2 separate regions of the Homo sapiens genome follow, and region 1 is linked to region 2. The links are contacts of gene promoters, found by promoter capture Hi-C in human tissues and cell types (Jung and others, 2019). All regions are on one chromosome and are shown on one strand. The core of a region is centred on a gene start or on the middle of the fragment in contact, and the rest is flanking DNA. Distances in the headings are between cores, read along the strand shown. Region 1 overlaps LINC01122 (long intergenic non-protein coding RNA 1122). Region 2 holds the start of FANCL (FA complementation group L).

The links. Contacts are between HindIII fragments. The study calls those that stand out against the background at their distance.
Region 1: a fragment that was not itself captured here is called in contact with the fragment with the promoter of FANCL in region 2 in 1 of the 25 tissues and cell types used here (mesendoderm cells).

Annotation. Positions count from the first base shown.
Region 1 is chr2:58,562,445-58,567,627 of GRCh38, forward strand. All of the region lies in intron 1 of LINC01122 (long intergenic non-protein coding RNA 1122), which reads left to right. Among named protein-coding and RNA genes, the nearest start is that of LINC01122, 44 kb to the left of the region's middle. The HindIII fragment of the contact is 5,805 bases long and covers 972-5,183 here.
Region 2 is chr2:58,239,496-58,245,225 of GRCh38, forward strand. It overlaps FANCL (FA complementation group L), which reads right to left and starts at 1,830. Exons shown (of 14, transcript NM_018062.4): 1 at 1,723-1,830. The coding sequence starts at 1,818. RefSeq lists a silencer at 1,428-1,477 and an enhancer at 2,018-2,177. The HindIII fragment of the contact is 14,155 bases long and covers 1-4,942 here.

The DNA of each region.
Region 1 (5,183 bases), core at 2,624-5,123, 320 kb after region 2:
AACCTCAAAATGAGCTTTCTCTTAATTGGGGAGTAGGAAGGGAAAGTAAACTAGTGGCTGGTAAATGCCAGACTTGTGAATCATTTCTTTATTTTGGACAAGAGTGTTGAAACGTTTTTAGATGTGCATGGAATTAAAAGAGAACAGGGTGGGGAAAGGAATTTATTTATTTATCAAGCCCTACACTTTTTCTGGGCAAATGTATGCATGGTATTTTTTAGACCTCAATATAATGCAAGAGGAAAGTAGTATTGTACTCATTTTTAGAGGATAAAATTGATTCTAGGAAGGTTAAGTGACTTGTGCCAGGCTAAATAATTAGTAGTGGCCCTAGGATTGAAACAAAAGCATTCTATAGATATTTATTGAGTTAAGCTCTAGCTACTAATATCTATCTATCTATCTATCTATCTATCTATCTATCTATCTATCTATCTATATAGTGAAAGAACCAGACATGATCTTTGTCTTTCTGGGGCTTATGGTTTAGAGGGGAAAACTAATATTAAAAAAAAAAAACTTCATGTAAAAATATATGTGATTATAAAGTTTGATAAGTATTATGAATAAAAAGTTCAGGGGGACATAATTTTCCTTGGAATGTCAGAATATGTAAGTAGGGACCTGAAAAATGAGGAACTATTATCTAGGTGAAGAATGGAGATAATTCTGTTCCCTCCAAGGAAATGGCCTATGTCAAGGCTCCAAGTAGGACATAAAAACTGACTGGAATAACCAGAGCATAGTAATTGAGGATGGTGTGATGAGGCTAGAAAATAGGCAAGGACCAGATTTTTATAGAGCTTTGGAAGACATGATACGGATTTAGATTTTTATCTAAAATGCAGGTCGGCCTGGCACAGTGGCTCATGCCTGTAATCCCAGCACTCTGGGAGGCTGAGGTGAGCAGATCACCTGAGCTCAGGAGTTCAAGACCAGCCTGGCCAACATGATGAAACCCCATCTCTACTAAAAATACAAAACTTAGTCAGGCATGGTTGCAGGCACCTGTAATCCCCACTACTTGGGAGGCTGAGGCACGAGAATCTCTTGTACCCAGGAAGCAGAGGTTGCAGTGAGCCGAGATTGTGACACTGCACTCCAACCTCACAACAGAGTTAAGACTGTGTCTCAAAATAAAATAAAATAAAATGCAGAGGAATACCATTGAAGCAGGGCAATGTCATAATTAAGATTCACAAAATCATACCTGTTGCTATGTAAGAAATGGATTAGAGGGGTTTCTTTCATATCTAGATCATACAACAAACACTTTTAATCATAATTATATGTTTCTAGTGTTGTTAGTTAAATGAATGAAAGAATAAATGAATAATTGGATCTGCAGATAAAATGTAGAACAACGCTTTAAAAGACAAATGAATTTTTGTTAGTCAGCACCAGAGAGAGAATTACCTACTAACATGGCTCTGAGAAAGTATTATAATATGGTTCTAAAGATAAAATTTACCTACCTCACATTTTTTATTTCTTTTTTCCTACTCTTATATATTAATATTAGGTTGGTGCAAAAGTGCTTTAGAGATTGAGCTTTTCAGAACTCTCTGCTTAAATTAAATGTATTTCCTTTTTAGAAACTTTAGCTTTCTTTAAGTTAAAGTTTCCTAATGCTGAATACCTAACAACCTGATAAAATTATTTTAGAGTTGAAGGAATCAAGAGCTCAAAATATGCCTTCACCCCACAGGTTTTCAAATTCAGAATGATAGCTGCTCAGTGTGTATTTATGTGCTTGCCAGTATATACTAGATATATTTAAAGTTTTTTAGTTCTTTTCCCTCTAAGCAGAGGCATTAATGGGCTATTATTGTTATAATGGGTGTATTGGTGGTTTATGAAGAAATTACTCTTAGGGGTATATGCATATTCACTTGTATATAAAGACAAACATTGACCCTCAAGGTGTCCATTTACATTTTAGGCTTTTCAGCTTCCTGACTTACAAGGGAACTATCAATATATTTAAAAATAAACAAAGAAATAACAGAATTGGAAGTCTACATAAAAGATCACCTAACCCACTGCATGGTTTGGATGTGTCTCTCAAAATTTGTGTGTTAATTCCAAATGCAACAGTGTTGGGAGGTGGAAACTAATGGGAAGTGTTTAGATCAGGAGGGCTTTGCCCTCATGAATAGATTAATTCTACTATGAAAAGGGTTTGAGGGAGTGGGTTCACTCTCTTTTGCTCTTCTTCATGTGAACACCCAGTACCTTGATCTCGGACTTACCAGCCTCCAGAACAGTGATAAATAAATTTCCGTTTTTAAAAATAATTTACCCAGCCTGTGGTATTCTATGATAGCAATAAAAAACAAACTAAAACACCCACCATGTTTATATTTCAAGCAGAGAAGCTTTTGTAAGGAGTTGGGCTCCTTTTTTGTTGTCATCGAGGAAAGACAGTGTCTCTCCCCACTGGTCACTGAGGATCTGTAATAATCTCCTTGAGAGCAGGTCACTATCTGAAGTAGAATATCATTTGGCCTTGTACACCTTGAGACCCCTGTGGTGATCAGACATTTGAATATGCTATCCTCTCTGTCTGGAATGTTTTCTTCTCTCCTTTTCACTTCATACTCATCCTTCAAAATGCAGTGATCTTATTTTTCTAGGGCAGTCTTCCCTGAACTCTCTTTTATGTTAAATTAGATTATACTATCTTTTGGGGCCCTCTGAGTACCATGGAATTTATCACAGCTGAAACTTTACAAATATTTGTGTGGTTATTTGATTAATATTTAGTTTGTGAGCTCCTAAGGTAAATAACAGCTCAATGACAGTGACATCCAGCATATATGAATGCAACCAAGGAAAGGCAATTAATATCTTCACCAGTTTCACAATAAAACAGTATTTTAAAAATATTTCTTTTTTTTTTTTTTTTTTGAGACGGAGTTTTGCTGTTGTTGCCCAGGCTGGAGTGCAGTGGCGCGATCTTGACTCACTGCAAACTCCCCCTCCCGCTTTCAAGCGATTCTTCTGCCTCAGCCTCCCAAGTAGCTGGGGTTACAGGTGCCAGCCACCATGCCCAGCTAATTTTTTGTATTTTTAGTAGAGACAGGTTTTCACCATGTTGGCCAGGCTGGTCTTGAACTCTTGACCTCAGGTGATCTGCCTACCTCAGCCTCACAAAGTGCTGGGATTACAGGCTTGAGTCACCATGCCTGGCTTAAAGATGTTTCTTATCAAGATTAAGTTTATTACAAAAGATGTCTCATTATTAGAATGCTATAGAAATTCCTTCCTTTTTTTACTTATTTATTTATTTTTGAGACAGTCTCGCTTTGTCACCCAAGCTGGAGTGCGGTGTTGTGATCATGGCTCACTGCTGCCTCAACCTCCTGGCTGCAAGTGATCCACCCACCTCAGCCTTCCAAGTAGCTGGGAGTACAGGCATATGCCACCATGCCTAGCTAATATTTTAAATTTTTGTGGAGATGGCATCTTGCTATGTTGCTGAGGCTGGCCTTGAACTCCTGGGTTCATGCCATCCTCTCATCTTGGCCTTCCAAAGTGCTGGAATTACAGGTCTGAGCCACCATGCCTGGCACCTTTCTCCTTTTCAAATAAATCAACTAAAGTCATGAAAATCGAAGTCTTTTAGCAGTTAATTTCAGTGTCTTGTCTGCAACCCACACTTAGAATTATGTTTTACATAATGACCGTAAACCTGCGAATATGAATAAAAGTTTTATGAAAAACTTCCATCATACTATACAATCTCCCACTGTATTGTAATAAAGGATGCTGATCATAAACCCCCAAACTGATGTACCTTCCATCAATGGGTTGTGATGCAATGTTTGAAAAGTACTTAAAGTGTTTATCTAATTGGGATTCTTCTCTATTACAAAATAGATAACTGAAAATTTAAATTATCTACCCATTGATAGTGTTACATATGCTTTTTTATTTTCTTCTTTATAGTATTCTGTATTGTCTACTTACTAAAATTAAATATATTGCATTTGTACTCAGAAACTAAGTTTAGGGAAATAAAGTTCCTTTTCAGTTATTACTTTGTTACTGCTAAAATATATACTTTTTTGATATTCTAACAGTCTAAATCTTTGCTTTGCTTTTCACTAACTTCTCAGCTCACACTAGTCTCATCTCAACAAAGATTTCTCTTTTTTGAATCTTCATAAAATCCTCCAGCTTCCAATTTGTATCTGAAGAGCTATTACATAAAACTGATTTCCCAGTACTTGTTTGGCAAAGCCTCACTTATATCCAATATTTAGATACTCTGAAGACAAGTACTGTGGGTGTCATTCACAATTTAGATTATCAACTTCTGGCCAGGAAATTCACTTTATTGCAGTATGTATAGTGCAAAGTACTTTGTGTTGTTTGTGTTTAACATTGTTTGTTAGTATCATTATCAACATAGTAATGTTATAAATAGCATTGTCAGAAACTACAACAGTCACTAAGATAACAGCCTTAACACCAGTGGCATGTACAGTATGCCATTATATTAATTATCACAATGGATCTGACAGGCTGCTCCTAAGAATTCACAGTAGTGAGTAGTTTATGATTTTAAACTCAAGAGGAAAACTGGAGAATACATCAATCCTAATACACTGTTGTCTCTGTGAACCTCCCTCTTTTTCTCAGTTTTAAAAAATAAAGAGGAAAATGATAAACTATTACTGAACCACATTCATTAATGGAATTAAATAAGTTGTTAGCTCTGTAATAAAGAAATGTGACAAAGAGTACATAATTTTTTTGCTCTATAATTTGATCATTGTCATTTGGCTGGATACAAGTAGTTCATCAGAAGGAAATTGTGCGTACCCAACAAGGTAAAGCTGTGAAAGAAAAGAGAATGTTGCATATTTATATTTATATTTCTAAATATGATTCCATTGAGAAAATATTTTCCTCTGTTGGGGAAAGGAATGGCATGTCATCTCTAAGCTGGTTTTATAATTTGGTATGTTGTAGATTCTGTAGTCATGAACATTAGGAGTGGGATAAAAGTCACTATCACTGCAATGTCCTCCCAATCTAAATAGTAAAACTGAACTTAACAAAAGGATATTTTTCCCTGTGGTATAAATTAAAAGTTGATTGTAATTCATAAAATGAACTTCTAATACTGCTTCTGAAAGCTTTATGTATACATGGATAATTTACTTATTTATTCC
Region 2 (5,730 bases), core at 580-3,079:
GACATGACAACTAAATGTAATGTGGGATCTTAACAACAGATGGTAGGGGATGGGGGTATAAAACATACAACTGTATCATAAACAAAATTTGAAATATGGACTCTATCTTAGATAATAGTATATCATTAAATATCCTGATTTTAATCACTGTACTGTGGTTATGTATGAGTGTGTCCTCGTTCTTATGAAATGTATGCTCAAGTATTTAGGGATAAAGGGGAACTACGCCTGATTTGACCTCAAATGGTTCAGGAAAATAATGTGTATACACACCCACCCACATACATATACTTAACAATGATCAGTAAAATGGAGAAAATGTAAACTGGTGAATCTAGGTAAAGGGTATACTGGAATTACTTGTACTGTATATCCTTGCTACTTTTCTGTAAATTTAAAATATATACAAAATATTTTTAGACACGTAAAATGTTTAAGATTTAAATAAACTGCTAAGGCAGGTACAAATTGGAATTCTAGCTATAGCAATGGTCATAAAAGAAACTTTCATCTAATCTCAATTCTAATGGGTGTACTTGTTTCCTAAAAGGCCTTAGCAGATATAGACATACATAACAGTATTTTGCCTAAAATTAGGTATAACATGCTTCCTGTAAAAAAAAAAAAAAAAAAGTAACTTAAAATTTTTCAACTTTTCTAAATGTTGTCTACAAGAGAATCATATTTTCAGCTAGGTAATTCAAGAAGAATACTTCTAATTGGAGAGGGAAAGGTGGATTAACTTTTTTCCATATGGAATAATGAATTTTTAACCTCTACTTTCTGTGATGGTCATATGGTAATTCCACATATACTCAAAGACTATGCGTGATGGTGGGGAAGTGGGCACAAGGTTGAGTGTAATGGTCAGAAAGGAAAAGTCTACACTCCTAACCTAAGGTATCCTGGTGCAATGTAAAGAGAAAAAAATCCAGGACTGAAATCACACAGCCTGCGTTTAAGGGATTCTGATGTGATCATCAGCAAATAACGTCTCCGGTTTCCCATACCTTGATTTCTTCAACTAGAAAATGGGAATGATGATTCTTTTAAAAATTTCTGCCTCAAAGGGCTGAGGATTAAGTGAACTATTTACCTGGAAAGCGCTTTGTAAACTTCAAAACCCTACACATGTGTTAGTATGTGTAATAAACTCCATATGAGAGGCCACTGGAATCAGCAAAGTTAATTAATTCCATTGCTGTCATGCTTCTCCTAGAAGATATTGTAACTGTGGGTGTACAGGTACATACGACTTGGCAAAGGGCCAAAATAAGGTTTTCTTCCCAAATGTTCTTTCTACAGGAAACACGAAAATAATTAGCCCAGATTCCCGAGTGAACTCATCAACATCCGTGGAGGTGGAGGGTGTTAAAATCGAGTTAAGGCAAAATTTACAAAAAAAAAATTAAAAAACAGTCAATTGCGGGACACTGAACGAAGAAGGAAGCCAAACTCGGGGAAGGGCTAGGGAGAGAGGAGGCGTGGCCCCAGCCCCGCTCCACGCCGCGCGCCTCCTCGCTCCCCATCCAGCGCGGCGACCACCGGGGTGGCGGCGACAGCGGCGCTTCTCAAACCTTTAGTCTCCCAAGAGCCGTTACGCGCCGCCCCTCTCAATCCCCACAAGTCTGGGCCCCTAACCTCCTAGCCCGTCACAGACTTCTCCGCGCAGCTACGCTGCAAGAGGCTCTCTTAGCTAGAAAGCAACCACTGGGCGGGTACCTGAGCCGAGATGAATCCCTCATACACGGTTTTCGACCGGTTCTGGGGCAGAAGCAGGGGGCACTGGCGCAACAGGCTCGCTTCCGTCACCGCCATGGCTCGAAGTCCGGAGAAACACAGAAAAGCTCTAGACCTGCTGGGTCCTGCACATGCGCAGTCCGCTGGCGCTCGGACGCCGCGGAGCGGAAACCCCAGCCTTGGCGGGAAGATCCTGGAGGATTCCGCGGGCGGAAATGAAGGTGAAGCGCAGGCCAGGCCAAGTGGCGCTCTGCGGGAGGCGACATCAGGGCTCCCCAACCGGTAGTGGGAGGGAAGATTGCCCTCAAGTCCACAGGACTGACTGACCAAGATCATTCTAGCCTCAATTGTCCCAGGAGCCCTTTCGATGATTCTGTTTTACTTTATTGAAAGACTGTTACAACTTTGGTGTTGCATTTCCTCCAGAATAAAATGACTTTTACAGCCTGGACGTTGTAGCACTCTGTCTTCTTTGCTGTTGTCCTCTCTCCCTTAACATACAGAATAATGTATTATTTTGTGTATAATTATTGTAATATAATGTATAACACATTGATTATATCATATATATTACAGTTCTGTGGCTTACTAAGTTCAATCAGATATATTTGAGGCACACACATGTATACGTATATGTGTATTGATTAGACTCAAGTCAACACTGGACTCAGTTCTGTGTACGGCACTCACAAATATATAAAGCAAAACATGAGTAAAGATTGCTGATGGACTTGAACTTAATTTTCCTCTGACAGCGCTTGCAATATGTTTTTCTAACTCAGGAATGTTATCCATCCCATCTTATTAAGAGTTGATTAAATAAGAAACCTACTAAAATATTTACCATATGATTATTTGATTTTCCAATTTTCCAATTTTCCAATGCATCACGTTTGAGCCCTACTATTTGAAAAACATCATTGTAATGTGCCAAAGGTTGAGCAAAGATTATTTCGTCCCCTACCCATCTTTATTGACCTCAAGACAGAATTTGACATCCTGAAGATTCTTAAAGTTTGACAAGAATTTGTCACAGCATTCTGGATGCTTACAGAAAAGAATGCTGGAGCAGTGGTTAGATATAAATTACATTAAAGCAGTGGTTCTCAAAACGTGATCCTAGAACCTAGCAACAGCATCACCTGGGAACTATGTAGAAATACAAGTTTTCACCGCTGATGGGGTTCAGGATATGCTACCCCAAAATATGGCCCCTTGACATTTGAGAAAACAACAAAACCTAAGATCACTCTCTGACCTTCTCCCATCCTTCTTCCCTGAGGCGGGTCATTGGATCCTCAATCCAGAGGTGCTCTTCCTATACCCACAGGAAAGAAATATCCTTATCTCTAAAGAAACGGAGACATAGAAAAGAATCTGAACAAAAAGACCTTTGACAACTTACCCCAGTTTATTACCATTAGACCATGCTTTGTCCAACCGTACTTCCCCACAACTGTCCACTGTTCCTTCTAAAAATGCACAGGTTTTCCTGTTTCTTTGGGCTTCATCTCTGAAGGCTCCCATGCCACATAAAACTTAAATAAATTTGCACGCTTTTCTCTTATTAATCTGTCTTTTCTTATAAGGGACTCAAACAGGAATCTAGCAACAGGAAAGAAAGATGTTTCTCATTCCCTACAGGCCCCTATTTCAAACCTCGGGAATCCCAAACACTGGCAATAGGGCTCAGCAGTCTGCGTTTTAACAAGCTCTCCAGGTGATTCTGATGCATGCTAAGGTTTGAGGATCTCTGCAGGGGCAGGACATAACACCTGCTTTATTTTGCAACTCGGTAATTAAGGACGGCCATGCTACATGTTTTCCTATAAGAATAAAGTAGAGGCTGTGCAAAAGTGGGATCAACACAAAGATTAAGAGAACATATAGTCCCTTACTTCAAGCACTTTATAATTTATCTGTGAATTAAGATCTTTATTGTATCCAGTATGTTAAACTTCCCCACCACCACACTTTCCCCCATGGAACTTCTACCCTTTCTTTAAAGTTCTTCTCAAGTGCTATGTCTTTTTGGAAAGCTTTTTTAATCTTCTGAAAATTATTGCTCTCCCTAATCATTTAGCATATTTCCTGCTGCATCGTAGGTGCTAATAAATTATTTACTAAATATCTTAATTTGGGTTGTTATAGCAGAATACCATAAACTGGATAGGTAATCCGCAGAAATTAATTATTTCTTAGTTATGGAGGCTGAGAAGTCCAAAATCAAGACGCAAGGACAAGATTTGGTGTCTGGTGAGGAGTCACTTCCTGGAACACAGTCTTTTGGCTGTGACCTTACATCACATTCACCTTTACTATTGATACACTGGACAGTGTGACCACTTGCCAAAAGCAGTTGGCTCCTTGATTCGGAATCCCCATAATTAGGTAACTAGACTTAAAGATTTCCAGCACGTTTATTGCTAATTTATCATCTTAGATTTTAAAGAAAAGACATCCAAGTCACTGTTATGATAGTTGAACTTGTAAATGAGCATTCCTTATCAATAAAATCTATAATTGAAGAAATCCAATGACCAAGGAACAAGGTAAGATACCATATAAAAACTTTTTAATTCAATTACTCGACTATTATCCTTAGGTGTTCAAGACTGAAAGTTGGATACTCACTACCATCATCAATTCATACGTGGTTGTGCTGGAACCATTTATATATAGCCCAGTTGAAGTCAGCCACCCCAAAATCCAAAAAAAAAAAAAACAAAAATGCTCAATATGTTTAAAGATCAGAAAGCCAAGGAACTACTTCTACCACCATCAGCATGATTTCAATTTTGGAATCACTCTGACAAACTGCACAAAGATCCTCATTAAAGTTCAAGTTCCACCAGGTATCCTAGGCAGGATTTCATTTATATACTTTGCCACAAAAATTACTACTATTTAAATGCTATTGCCTGAGGAAGAACTTTATATTCTAACACAGAAAAATATCCAAACATTTTGACAAATAAAAAGCACAAATTCCAGAATGGTATGCTTACTATTATAACATTTATATTCAAATATATAAGTAAAGTTGCTCTGTATTACTAGCAATGGTTACTTTAGGGGAGGGAGATGGGAACAAAGAATGGAGATAATGGCCCATGGAGACTTTTATCTTTTATATTTTAATTTTTTAAAGGAGAATTATTAGTCTTAAAATTAAAAATTAAAATTTAAAATGCTTATACCATTCCAATTAGCATCTGTTATCCTTATTTTATAGCCCAAATGTTTAGCCATGTCCCAAGAGTTTCTTCTCCCAGTTCCCACCAGTAATGGAAGAAGATAGGATGCCTGCCATTAACATTAATAAGATTAATAAAGGAGAGATTGTTTGAGTCTGCTGAGAAGAAAGATGAAGGAAGAGACTTGCGAAATGTGAAAATAAAGGGAAAATGAAAATTAGGGGAAAGTGAAGGAAGAATAGCCATTTAAAAGAGTTTTCAAAAAAACTGGAAAAGCAAGCCAATAATATCCTATTCTCTGTGGCACTGTGTCATAGAATGGAAAAGACAGCAGATAGTCAAGATTAAGGCATGATCAGGAGTGTAAAATGCTACCTAAAGGTTGAAAAAACTGAGAATTATAGAGAGGCCTTTGGATTTGATCACGCAAAAGCATTTATTAATTTGAAAGATCAGTTTGCTCTTGCCTGTTTTTCTATCCATGCACTAAACAGCAGTTTATAAATTGCGATGTAGTGAATAATTTTTCAGCCTTGAAAAGACCATATCCATAAGAAATAAACTACAAAGACTTAATTATGTGACCAAAGTCTGGTAGGGTGATATATGGAGAAGACAACCTGGCTCCTATAACCCTACCCCAACTCTTTTGGAGCACACTCCCTTGGTAGGTAGGTTTTACCAATAATGAGTCTAGATCCATTGCAGGTACAGAATAACAATTTCTGCTTCACTCTGGGCTGTAGACTTGAGGAGCAATGGTACCCACAACCCAACTACAGGTAAACAAAAG